Linked DNA regions of Homo sapiens: region 2 is linked to region 1. Evidence: promoter capture Hi-C in 16 types of primary human blood cells and fetal thymus (Javierre and others, 2016). All regions are on one chromosome and are shown on one strand. Each heading gives the region's core, a stretch centred on a gene start or on the middle of the fragment in contact. The rest is flanking DNA. Distances are from core to core; before and after follow the strand shown.

What was found. The method cuts DNA at HindIII sites, captures the fragments that hold promoters and counts their contacts. A CHiCAGO score of 5 or more calls a contact.
Region 2: a fragment that was not itself captured here is called in contact with the fragment with the promoter of FLJ42393 in region 1 in 1 of 17 cell types (fetal thymus); the score reaches 5.4 in fetal thymus.

What each region holds. Positions count from the first base shown.
Region 1 is chr3:188,176,341-188,182,126 of GRCh38, forward strand. It overlaps FLJ42393 (a long non-coding RNA gene), which reads left to right and starts at 2,203. Exons shown (of 1, transcript NR_024413.1): 1 at 2,203-4,468. All of the region lies in intron 1 of LPP (LIM domain containing preferred translocation partner in lipoma), which reads left to right. RefSeq lists an enhancer at 2,967-3,579. The HindIII fragment of the contact is 11,595 bases long and covers 1-5,786 here.
Region 2 is chr3:188,000,244-188,006,029 of GRCh38, forward strand. LOC107986166 (a long non-coding RNA gene) reads right to left here. Exons shown (of 5, transcript XR_001741061.2): 3 at 3,658-3,745; 4 at 2,172-2,336. Among named protein-coding and RNA genes, the nearest start is that of LINC01991, 27 kb to the left of the region's middle. The HindIII fragment of the contact is 5,852 bases long and covers 1-5,786 here.

The DNA of each region.
Region 1 (5,786 bases), core at 953-3,452:
AAGAGTTTTTGAAGATGGGGAAATGAGGCCTGGAAATAGAAAAGATTTGCCTAGAGTCACACACACTGTCAGGTCAGGTAGAGTCAAAATCAGGCACCCCGACTCACAGACTGCTTCACATTGCCATCAGAGATTGTCCTGCAACAATATTATGTTTAGTTCTACTGCAGAATGATAACTGGATCTTACCCCCTTTGCCTGATCTGGCCACAAACTTGTTTTTCAGGTCTTTCCATTAGGCTCTCTTCAGCTAATTAAAAAAAAAAAAATCAGTTAACCCACATTTATTGACCAGTGCTGTGTGTTCACAACTGTATTTAGACTAGTGGTATAGCAGTGCAGTAGTCTGAAAACATTTTCTCATCTGTAAACAAAGACAGTCATACCTCCTAGGACTGCAAGAAGTCACTGAACATATACCTGGCCCTTAGTGTACACATTACTAAAGAGAATAAGATGTGGTCTGCACCCTCTCATGCACCAGTGGCTTCTTGAGCAGTATGATAGAGAGAGACAGCTGAGATTTAGTGGAAAAACACAAGGCTTAGAATTGGGAGAGCTGGGTTCAAGCCCCAGCTTTGCCACTAAATGGCTGTGTAGTCTTGAACAAGTCACCTGCCCTCTCTGAGCTATAATTTGAAATAGACTTAGCTTAAGCAACAGGAAAGCAGTAATGAGCTAGAGGAAGGATAGAAATTGGGAAGAAGTATAAATCTGCTTAGGAGATGGCAAGTTTGGGGCTGAGGTGGAATTGATCTGAGGGAGAGACCTGGTAGAAAGAGCTAGGCAGTATGAGGCTGAGTGTCTGAAGGGGTAGCAGGCCTGGGGGTGGTCCAGTGATGGTTGAATGGGTGGGCCAGCCCAGCGAGGGGATCGCCTGCAATCCAGTAGAGATGCCCTCATTTTCATGGCAGGGTCCCCCTGTGCCAGTAGACAGACCCAGGCCTGGGAAGGAGGGCTGGTTGAAGTGAGATGGATACCAGTCTTGGAGCATGGTTGGAGAATCTGTCCAGGGTGATGGCATCTGTTTTGGATTGGGGCCTTGAGGCACATTTTCAGTTCTGCTCCCTGGACCAGCATAGGAGGGTGGCAGACAGTACAGTGATTTGAATACAGGATTGATCCTGCCACCTTGATTTCTGCCTTTATTTAGCGGCAAAGACACTAGATCAGAAAAGTACTGGATGTGATTGCTGTAGTCTTTCATGATTGATTTAGGAGCTGGGAGAGGCCTGGCTAGGAGTTGGAGGATCCCTGGGAAGATGAAGATTAGGTCTTACGTGAGCCTCAGCCCTCTCCTCTGTAAAATGGGAGTAATGATGGTAATTATGCTGATGTTACCTATTCTGACTGGAGTAAGGATTAAAGTACTTGTCTGGAGGAAGGCACTTCATGGTTAAAACATGAAAAGAGAAGTGCACAGTGTTTTTATTACAGGGAAACACCAAAGAGCTGGAAAGGAATGAGGGCTGGAGAGATGGAGCTGCCCTGAGGACTCTGGGAGGTCATCCTGGGGGCAGAACTTTGACAGTTGCTGCCCGAGGTGGGACAGGGATGCTGGGAAGATGTGACGATGTGCATAAGTGTGTCATGTTCAAGATGGTTCTAAGCCCTGGCCAATTCCATACATGCTCTTTTCCTTTCTCATCCATAGAGGTTTTGGCAAAGGCATACTTGGGAGTGTTGATATAGCTGACACTGCAGCACCCTCAGTTTACAGGTGTGAGAAGAGTGAGGCTCCCACAGTCTCACTTGGACAGGTAGTCAGGGCTCTGATGGAGCTCCTGGAGTTTCTAGGTTCTCTGTCACTTGATAGTCAGTGCTGGGAGGGACCTCAGGGAATCAGCCAATTTCACAGATGGGGAGAGTGAGGCAGGTTGGGAATTCTGGCCCCAGTGGAGGGCACCACATGCCCACAGGGAAATGTCTTTCCCAGCCCCCTCCTCATGCTTCTCCTCTTTTCTGTCTGGAAGTCCTAGTTCTCCTCCTCACGCTGAGACCCAGGTAGGGTGATTGTCCATGTTTCTTCATTTATCTGTTTTTTTTCTGTTGCCCAGGGACTACTCTAAGCACCATGCTGGTTGCTGACTGTTCGCTTTTGCAAGATCTTGGAATCTCTGTTTGTTCACATCACAACTCAAGAGGATACGTTCTCATTCTCCCAATGTTTGTCTTCTGCCCATTGCATCAAATTGCTCTTCCTTGTTTGGAATTAAACTTCTAGCAATCATTTACCTTTATGGTTCTCTTAACTTCAGGTCACACTGTTGTTTAGTCAATGTGAGAATCTTTCAGATGTTCTGCACTTTGCAAAAGGATATTCACAGCCAATGTGTGCGGCAGTGAAGGACACTTGTTGATTCCTTATTTATTGTCTGCTGTTCCAGGGACCGGGGACTAGAGGTGAATAAAGCCTTGTTTGGGCTGTCTAGGATGTTGTGATCGACACAGGAAACAGACATGAAAGCCAAATTGGCGCAGTGGGTGAAGTATTGTAATACTGGTCTCTGTTTATGATATATGGAAGAAGTTTCCTAGTAGCAGGGTGGGTGAGAGAGTCCATCATCATTGCAGATTGGTGCCTCTGTGGACATGCAGGTATATTAGGCCAGAGGTGGGGAGTGGGAGAGAGAGGGAGAGAGAGAGCACGACAAAGAGAGAGAGAGAGAGTGAGCAAGAGAGAGGGAGGGAGAGAGACAGAGAGAGAGAGAGAGAGAGAGAGAGAGTGAGCAAGAGAGAGGGAGGGAGAGAGACAGAGAGAGAGAGAGAGAGAGAGGTTTTGAGAGCATTGATATGGGGTCTACATATTCCCCCCGGCCCCCATTCCCTATTATCATAGAAGCATGCTGCCCTCCAAGGCTTTTGAATTTGCCACCGTGAAGAGCATGCATGGAATCTTCGGCTGTGGCCTTGCATTGCCCCCTGTCTTCGCAGCGGAGCTTCTTTATCTGACCCGTGCATGTGCCTCTGATGAGCAGCCCTTCATCACAGCTCTGCGGCCTCCTCCTAGGCCCCCGCCTTCAGCTCTCCAGTTCATTTCCCGCCTTGTTCCCATTGCCACCTGCGGGCTTGGAGGGCCACCTGACATTCTGTCCTTTGGGTCCCCTGTGACTCCAGAGCTCCTTCCCTTCTGGGGCGCCCACATCTGCGACACGCTTGTTTGCCCAGTGCATTTTCTACACTTAGAGTTCCTCTCGTGCTCTCATATTTCCATTTAAAGCCCTCTCGAGAGGTCTGTCTCCTGCCAGCAGCATTCCTTCTAGTTTACTAGAACTCCATTTCTCATCCTGCCAGGAATCCAGCCGTGGAGTGAGCTTCAGCAAGCCTCTCTGCAGTCTCTTGTCTGCTCCAAAACTGTGGCCTCTGGTTGTGAGAAATGGGCATCCTGAGTCAGTGAGAGCAGTAGTTAGCTTGCAGCAGCTTCCCCTCTCCCCCTGAGTGAGCCTTTCTTCCTCTTCCTCCTCTTTCATTCAGCCTCATCCTGCCTTGGGTCCATTTGACAGATAATGGCACCTTGAGGCCTTGTCTTTTGCATGGCATCTGTGCCTGACTGGTCAGAAATTACTTGTGAAGCAACATAGGGGGTTGTTGGTTGGGTCCACTTTTAGGATGAAGTCAGAAGGGATCGTGAGTGATGCTTGGCCAATAAGAATGTATTGATTTGATTTACTAATTAATTTCATTTCCAGACACCAATATATGCATAGCCTTGTTTGAAGAAAATTAAGGAGAACCATTTTGTAAATGGCAATGAGTGTAAGACACTTAACTATCTTCCTGCTCTCCCTGGCGTGGGCTTCCGCGCTCCCTGACTCTGCTTTTATTTAAGGTGTCTGGGAAGGCATTTGTCCTTCGGCTTCCCAGCTGGCTTCTTGCCTTCTCACTCACTGCCTCCCGTAGCCTGTGGGCAGAATCCCTCACCGTGCCCACCTTGCCCTGCTCTCGTCTGACCTCACCTCTGTTTCCAGGATTTGCTATGGCTGTCCCCTGCCAGTCATGCTCTGTGCTTGCTACTCTGAGTGTGTCCCTGGTCCCACTCTCTTGCAGCCTCTGTGTCTTAGCACATGCTGCCCTGATGGCCCAAGGGCCCTTCCCCTTTGTTTCTGTCTGGGGAATGTTCTGTCTCCTCTTTCTTGAACCTCCTTATATTCCCTCAAGAAGACTTAAGGCAAAAACAAACCTGAACTTACTATGTGTGGTATTTTTGTGTTATAAGTGTAGGACCTAGTCATAGTAACACATTTCAAAAATATGGAACCGTATAAAGAAAATGAGCATCACTCATAAATCACTATTTAGACACAAGCATTGTTTACGTTTCTAATATTCTTTCTTTAGTGGTGCTTTTCATGATTTTATGTGCATTTGCATTTTACTGACTAAATATTACTATATAAACATTTTCATATCTTGCCACTTCACCTAACAATACAGCACAAGCAGCTTCTCATGGCATTAAGAATTGTTTGTACATGTAATTTTGAATGGCTGTATGCTGTTTCATCTTAAGAATATACCATAATTCTAATTTTTCATCATTATAAATAGCACTGTGACGAACATCCTTCTTAACAAAATTCTTTGTCTGCACCTATGATTATTTTCTAAGGTAGATTATTAGAATTTGAAATGCCTTGCACAAAGGACAGTAACTTTTTCACCCTTAGTTTCAGAGAGAACATGTTGTCTCTGGAGAAACACAGAAACATGAAAAAGCACAAAGAAGAAAATAGGCCTGGCACGGTGGCTCATGCCTGTAATCTCAGCACTTTTGGAGGCCGAGGTGGGCGGATCACGAGGTCAGGGATTCGAGACCAGCCTGGCCAATATGGTGAAACCCCGTCTCTACTAAAAATACAAAAACTAGCTGGACTTGGTAGCGCATGCCTGTAATCCCAGCTACTCAGGAGGCTGAGACAGGAGAATTGCTTGAATCCGGGAGGCAGAGGTTGCAGTGAGCTGAGATTGTATCACTGCACTCCAGCCTGGGTGACAAAGTGAAATTCCGTCTCAAAAAAAAAAAAAAAAAAGAAGAAGAAAATAAAAACCACCTGCAGTCATTTGCAACAGCCAGTGTGAAATTTGCTACATAATTGTATCTGTGTATCTATCTTTCTACCCTACAGGTTGCCAAACATTTTCTGTAAAGGACTGGGTAGTAAATATTTTAGGCCTTGCAGGCCATACATGGTCTCTGTCTCCTCCTCCTCTTGTTTCCGCTGCTGCTTCAAGATTCTTTTAACTATAGAAAAATTATTTCTCGCTAGTAAGCTGTATAAATATCAGTTTTCCCACCTGGTTCTAGCCTCAAAAGTGGAGCAATTCTGTACATACTTTGAAAGCAATGTTTAAAAATTTATTTAATTTAATTAATTAAAAAATTAATTGGTTACTTTTTAGAGACAGGGTCACTCTCTGTTGCTCAGGCTGGAGCACAGTGGCATGAGCATAGCTCACTGCAGCCTTGGAAATCCTGGGCTCAATCAATTCTTCTGCCTCAGCCTCCCAAGTAGTTGGGACTACAGGTGCACGCCACTGCACCTGGCCATGTACATACTGTTTTGTAATTGTTCTCTTCCACAATTTAACTACTTCATCAGCGTCCTCATAGTTTTCTGTTTTAGGCAACCCAGATATAATTACTGGCTTTCTGCTGGGATGCCCACAGCACTTTGGCCAGATCTCTGATATAGAATTTAAGGCACATTTTATTGCGAGTATTTGCTGAGATGTCTCTTTCTTAAGTCTAACTCCTCGTGAGTCTTTCCAGCCTCAGCACATTTCCT
Region 2 (5,786 bases), core at 1,612-4,111, 180 kb before region 1:
TTAATGAGGAAGAGTTAAAAATAAGTAAATAAAAAAGACAAGTAAACAAGTCAGGGGAAGAGGTGCTGAACTGAAAGAAATAAAAAGAATTGCAAGGTGAGGAGAAGGGAGACTAAGATGTCCAGAAGGCAATAGCATCTCGCCATTTCTCTGTTCCAGGCCCTGCAGTGCCCCTGAGAGGGGGTTTCTGGTGTCGGCCAGTTGAGAGAGAGCCCTGATCAGGCACGGGGCTGGACAGGGAGCCTGGTAACACGTGCTGGTCAATACCACACACATCTGTTTGATTTGGCACTGCTTACCAGCCAGCTGCTGGCACAGAGCCAGAAGGGGCAGGTGGGGGTGTTTGGGGAGGGGGAAGGCAGGGGAGAGGGGATTATGTACAGTTGTTCCAAAATGGGGAACGGGGAGGAGGCCAGAAGAAATGAGGTGATGGAGGCCCCAAGGGCAGGCTGGAGCAGGAAGCCCACAGCTGTGGTGGTAGACCTTGCTGCTAATCACCCTCTGCAGCAGGTGAAGGTACTGAGTCAAAGTGCAGAGGCAGTAGGGAGGTGGCTTCCATAGACATTCAGGCATGGGGCCAGGTTTGCGTGAAGTGTCAGAAGTGCTTTCTCACTCTCCCTTTTGACCCACGTACTGTCTATCTCCCTAATGGTGAGCCTTTCAGAAATTCCAGACTAGCCACCATGTTGCTTCCCTATTTTTCCGACAAGATTAAACATTTTATACCCCACCTCAAATAATGTTTTTGGTTTTGTGGGGTTTTGTTTTGTTTTTTTGTTTTTTGCTTTTTTTTGCTCACAAAGACTTTCTCTAAGCTGTTAACAGCCTCCCAACCATCTAGAGAGAACTTTGGAAAGAATAAGCCTGCTCACTTAACAGAAGACTTAGGAAGTATGAACAATGTTCCTGAAGCCACCTGGCTTGGACAGTGCAAGAACAATCTGAGCAAACGCTGACTTTTCCACCCCAACACCATTTGCTCTGCCAAAATTTGCTCTGGTCCAAACTTTCAACCTTGTGCCAAGATGTTGAGTTGGTGAGTAGTGAATGTACACACCAGGGGAGAGCCATATTACTATGTCATCTCAGTGTGAAATCTGACACAGGCATACACGTTCAGTGTTCACTGTTTATTAACCAACACTGTCTGCCAGAAACCATGCTGGCTCTTCAAGTAGCTCACCGTCTGGGTGGTCTCTTCCTGGATCTCTATCCAGGTGTCCATTGCCTAAAGGGAATCCATTCAAGTCACTTCCACATGCTTGAAAATCTCACAAGTTTATCCTCTCTGCTCCTTAAAAAGTTCTATTCCCACCACTAGCATCACAAGTGACAAAAGACAAGACACTGTGTTGCAGCTGAAACTGACTATTCTGCTTCTTGAAACAGCAAAATCTGTTTACTTCTATGGTATTCTCAGTACACTGAGGGTCAAAATAATGTGATTGGGAATTACCGACATCCAATATAAAATACTAAAAAACCCAGAAAATTTTATATGGTTTGCCCTAATAATATAGGTTCAGGTTCTAAAGGGTATATGAGGTTCAAATCCTAATTCTGCCATTTCTTAGCAGGGTAAACTTTCCTTCTCTGTAATTTAAAATGGGAAGAATAGGAGACCTTATCTCATAAGGTTGTTGTAGTAAAGGGCTCACTCATGTAATGGCACAGATTTTGGCTACTGCACTCCAGAATGAAAAGGGAGATTTGTCCTTCATAGACAGGGCATCTACAACCACAACATCCCACTTCAATCTGGTTTTTCTTTGAATAATAAATTCCCCACCTTGTGTCACTGTAATTCTATCTTTCAACTCTCAATGCTCACACAGAATACTGACAGTTAAGAGACACCATTAAACTCTGCTACTCAGGAAAGGAACTTCAGGAACATAAGCTATCTACAGATAGCAAATACCAGCAAAGTTTAATCTGATTTATCAGCCACTTATTATTACTCCATTTCCCTTTTGCACCAGTGTCACATTCCCTGGAGACCTTTCAGGCTCTTCTTAGTCCTGGGCCTTCTTGACCCTCTACCTGAAAGGTGGTTTTCCTCTAGTTTTCTTTAATATAATTCCCAGGCTTCCTTCACTCCTTCTTCATCTCATCCTGAGGCTTTCGGTTCTGCACGCTTTGTCACATCCCTCTTCCATTACCTAACTCACCTGGATCCTCGTCCAACCTTCATGCCTTACACTGTGCACGGCTATACCATAGTCTCAACTCTGCTTTGGAATGATGTTGGGTCATAAGCAGTTTATTCAGCATAGTTTTCCATTTTCAAACTCGTTTCCGTAGGCTGTATTACAGCTCTGTAGGACTGTAGACCCCTATTGATATAAAACATAGATATCCATAGTTATCCTATATAGGGTATTTCCTCAGAAGTCCCAACTGCATCCACAAGGACTTGGTCACTGATACCTTGCGTGGTTGACACTGCAAGAGTTCTCAACTTAATTCTCTGCTCCACTCCAGGATTGAGGGCTTTTATTGTCTTCAGTGAGAGGACATTTAGCAGTCAGGTGACCCAGCATCAAGTTTGTCCCTTTCTGACCTTGCACCCTGGGTCCAGTGACTCATCTTATCTCTGATTTCATAATCCACCCAGGGTCCTCATTCCTACAAAACTGTTGGAATTAAAGTCTACCACCAACAGCTCCATAGCCTGCCTGTCTAGGAACAGGACTTATTCCCAGCCTCCCCCTAGCTTGATGGTAGAGTGGAAACAAACAGCAGGTTTGCACTCTTACCTAACCACTTCTTACATGACTAGTTGCTTTATCTCTCTAGGCCTCAATTTCCTCATTTGTTAAATAGGAATAAAATTACCCTTGCAGAGATACTGTGAGAATACATCACAAAGCAGACTGAATTCTTGACACATAGCATTGCTCAGTGAATAGTAGCTGTCTTTCTTAGGATGACCATTTATTATGGCTGGCTTGATGCTGGCTGCCGCTCAGCCTGTCCACCTCTTGCTTATCTTCGTGTGCTGCTGACACTCCCACATTCACCATCACACCTACCTAACCTCCTCATCTGAGTTCCAACTCCTCCTCTCCTCCAAGTGTGTTCTCGTTGTGTCTGTTCTGACTGCTGGCTAGCGGTGTACGGGAGCCAACAGGTACCAGCTCACAAGAGCTGACCCTGGCATCTCTTCCTAGCTCCACATTCAGTGAGCATCGTATTGGTAGCTTGAAATCAGGCACAGTGGGAGTATTTACACAGCAGAAATCAGCAAATACTACAAACAGGGCTTCCCCTTCACCCCACAGAGCCATTTGTTAAACATTTACAGGCACATAAGTGCAGACTCTTCATTTCTTCTGTACCTTCTCTGGGCCTTATTATCTGACCTGAACACTCAAATATAGCCCTTTTAAAGGAAGATCTTAGGGCTTTTTTTTGTACACTGACTGGCACTGCATTTCAGTGAGAATGCAGCTAAATCCATGCCGAAGTTTACAGAGTAACTCAGCTTAGGGATGGAAATATTTCACCAGGAAACAAACAAAAAAAATCTAACGAATATACATTAACCTCAGGATTAACCCTAGCACTAATGAGATCAGCTCAGTACAACCCAACTGTTTTTTTCCTGCCGGGCTCCCTCCTGGTGAGACAGGCTCCAGGGGCCAAGGCCTTTACCTGAATGCTGATGGAAATCTTCCAGGCCCTGAATGACATGTTCTCTGGGCCACTCCTTGAATGCCTCTAGCTTGGAAGCATTACTGTCCTGTAACAAAGAGGGTATAGAAGAAGATGAATCCTTTGTAGGTGAAAAGGGAGGCCTTGCCTTTCCTGCTTTGTTGTGAAGGCTCTGAGCCACATGAGTTTGCTAAGCTATAGACATGTTGAGGGCTCAAGTTCTGTTCCAATTTGTGTCCCCTAGAGGCCTGAACAAGTATCCTGTCCCTTTATGGTGTTTAATTAAGGTTTATTGTACTGAAGACCACATTTGGGATGAGTAATGGTTACTTAGTGCTAGGACGCACTTACCTATCTAATCTCCTTGAAGAAATACTTTATTAAGGAAATAAATAGATGTGTATGCCTGTGCCAGGTGCGGTGGGAGGAAGGATACTTTTCCCTAGGAGGAAATGTGTCCTTACGGATTTTAGAGAGCAAACTGTCATCTACTATCCTATCTGACTGTAGTGAATGTCATAAATCTCCTTTTAGCAGTATTTTATTCCTTCCTGTACATGAAAGGACTCCCCACCAGCCCAATTCAGGGGCACATTCCATCCTTCTGCCCTGTACTCCTAAAATCCTCTTTTTCCCCCACAAAGTTTAAAATTCTACCCATTTTTCTCTCTTCATAATTGCAGGCTGCCTACAGAATGCAAAACACTTCTCACCACCCCATGTCCTCGCAAGTACCCACCCTTCAACTTGCTGCCCCTAAAACTGGCACCTAGGGCAAGTTTTATTTTGATACATTTTATGATCATCTGCACAGGGATACCAACAGAAAGTGATGAGTGTAGGGAAGGGACAAAAGTTCCAGGAATGTCCCCAGTGCTCTCCTTACCCGGGTCTCTGGCCCACACTAAAATGGGAAATGCAACCCCTAGTTCTAAGAACTCCTCTTTGTATCCTCTCTCGCCTTCAGGGCAATGTCTCTGATGTTGGCAGGTACCACTAGCTATCCCTAATAAGAACAGCAGATATGAAGCTGTCAGGACCTTAACGAGGCACTTCGCAGGTTACAAATCATTCTCTCATCCTTTACTTTGGTGAACCTCAGAACCACCCTGTGACCTAGGCATTGAGGTGACCACCACCATCCTTCAGATGAGCTCATGGGACAGAGCTGTCAGAATGCCTGGTGGATGCCTGGGTGCGACACCTGCCAAGGCATACAGTGATTACGCGCTGCTTCTGCATAACCTGCAGAAAGACTCTGATTCAGGCCATCTTTTTTGGGCCGATCACGAGGTCAGGAGATTGAGAACAGCCTGGCTAACACGGTGAAACCCCTTCTCTACTAAAAATACAAAAAATTAGCCGGGCATGGTGGCGGGCACCTGTAGTCCCAGCTACTGGGGAGGCTGAGGCAGAAGAATGGCGTGAACCCAAGAGGCGGAGCTTGCAATGAGCTGAGATTGCGCCACTGCACTCCAGCCTGGGCGACAGAGCGAGACTCTGTCTCAAAAAAAAAAAAAAAAAAAAAAAAAGAATCTCAAATTGTGTCTTAACTCACTTTTATGAAGAAAAGTCACACACATTTTCTATCCACCACCCTGTCCCACTGGCAACAGCTTTGGTGCTTGCCTGATGACCGGATCTGTGTTCCCATGGCTACAGAGTAAAGTCAGGGCACCTCAGGCTGGACATCCAAATGACCCCTTGCCGTACTTCTAAGATCCAGGTTTGAGATAGGTCTGGATCAAGATGAAAAATTGCCATTATCCCAGGACTGGCTTTTTATGTCTTGCTTTATCTTGCCATACTTTTTATGTCTTTTTCCCAAGTCATCAAATGTACAAGTGCTTCAAGCCACAGAACTTCAGACTCCCTTAATTTATATTCTTACCTTTCCAGTAAGAATTAACTCTGAGTATTTAGGTTCTTCAGATACAAAATGCCTACTCTCTACTCCATGTAGTAAGAAAACAAAATTTATTTTTGAATATTTACCAGTTTAAACTTCTCACTAACTCATACTGGCCATTATAATTGTATAGGATTTTTCTCCACAGAAGTCAGGAATCTCCTTCAGCATGTTGATGTCAGATGATAGAATGGAGAGGACCAGTGGACTACTCAGTGCC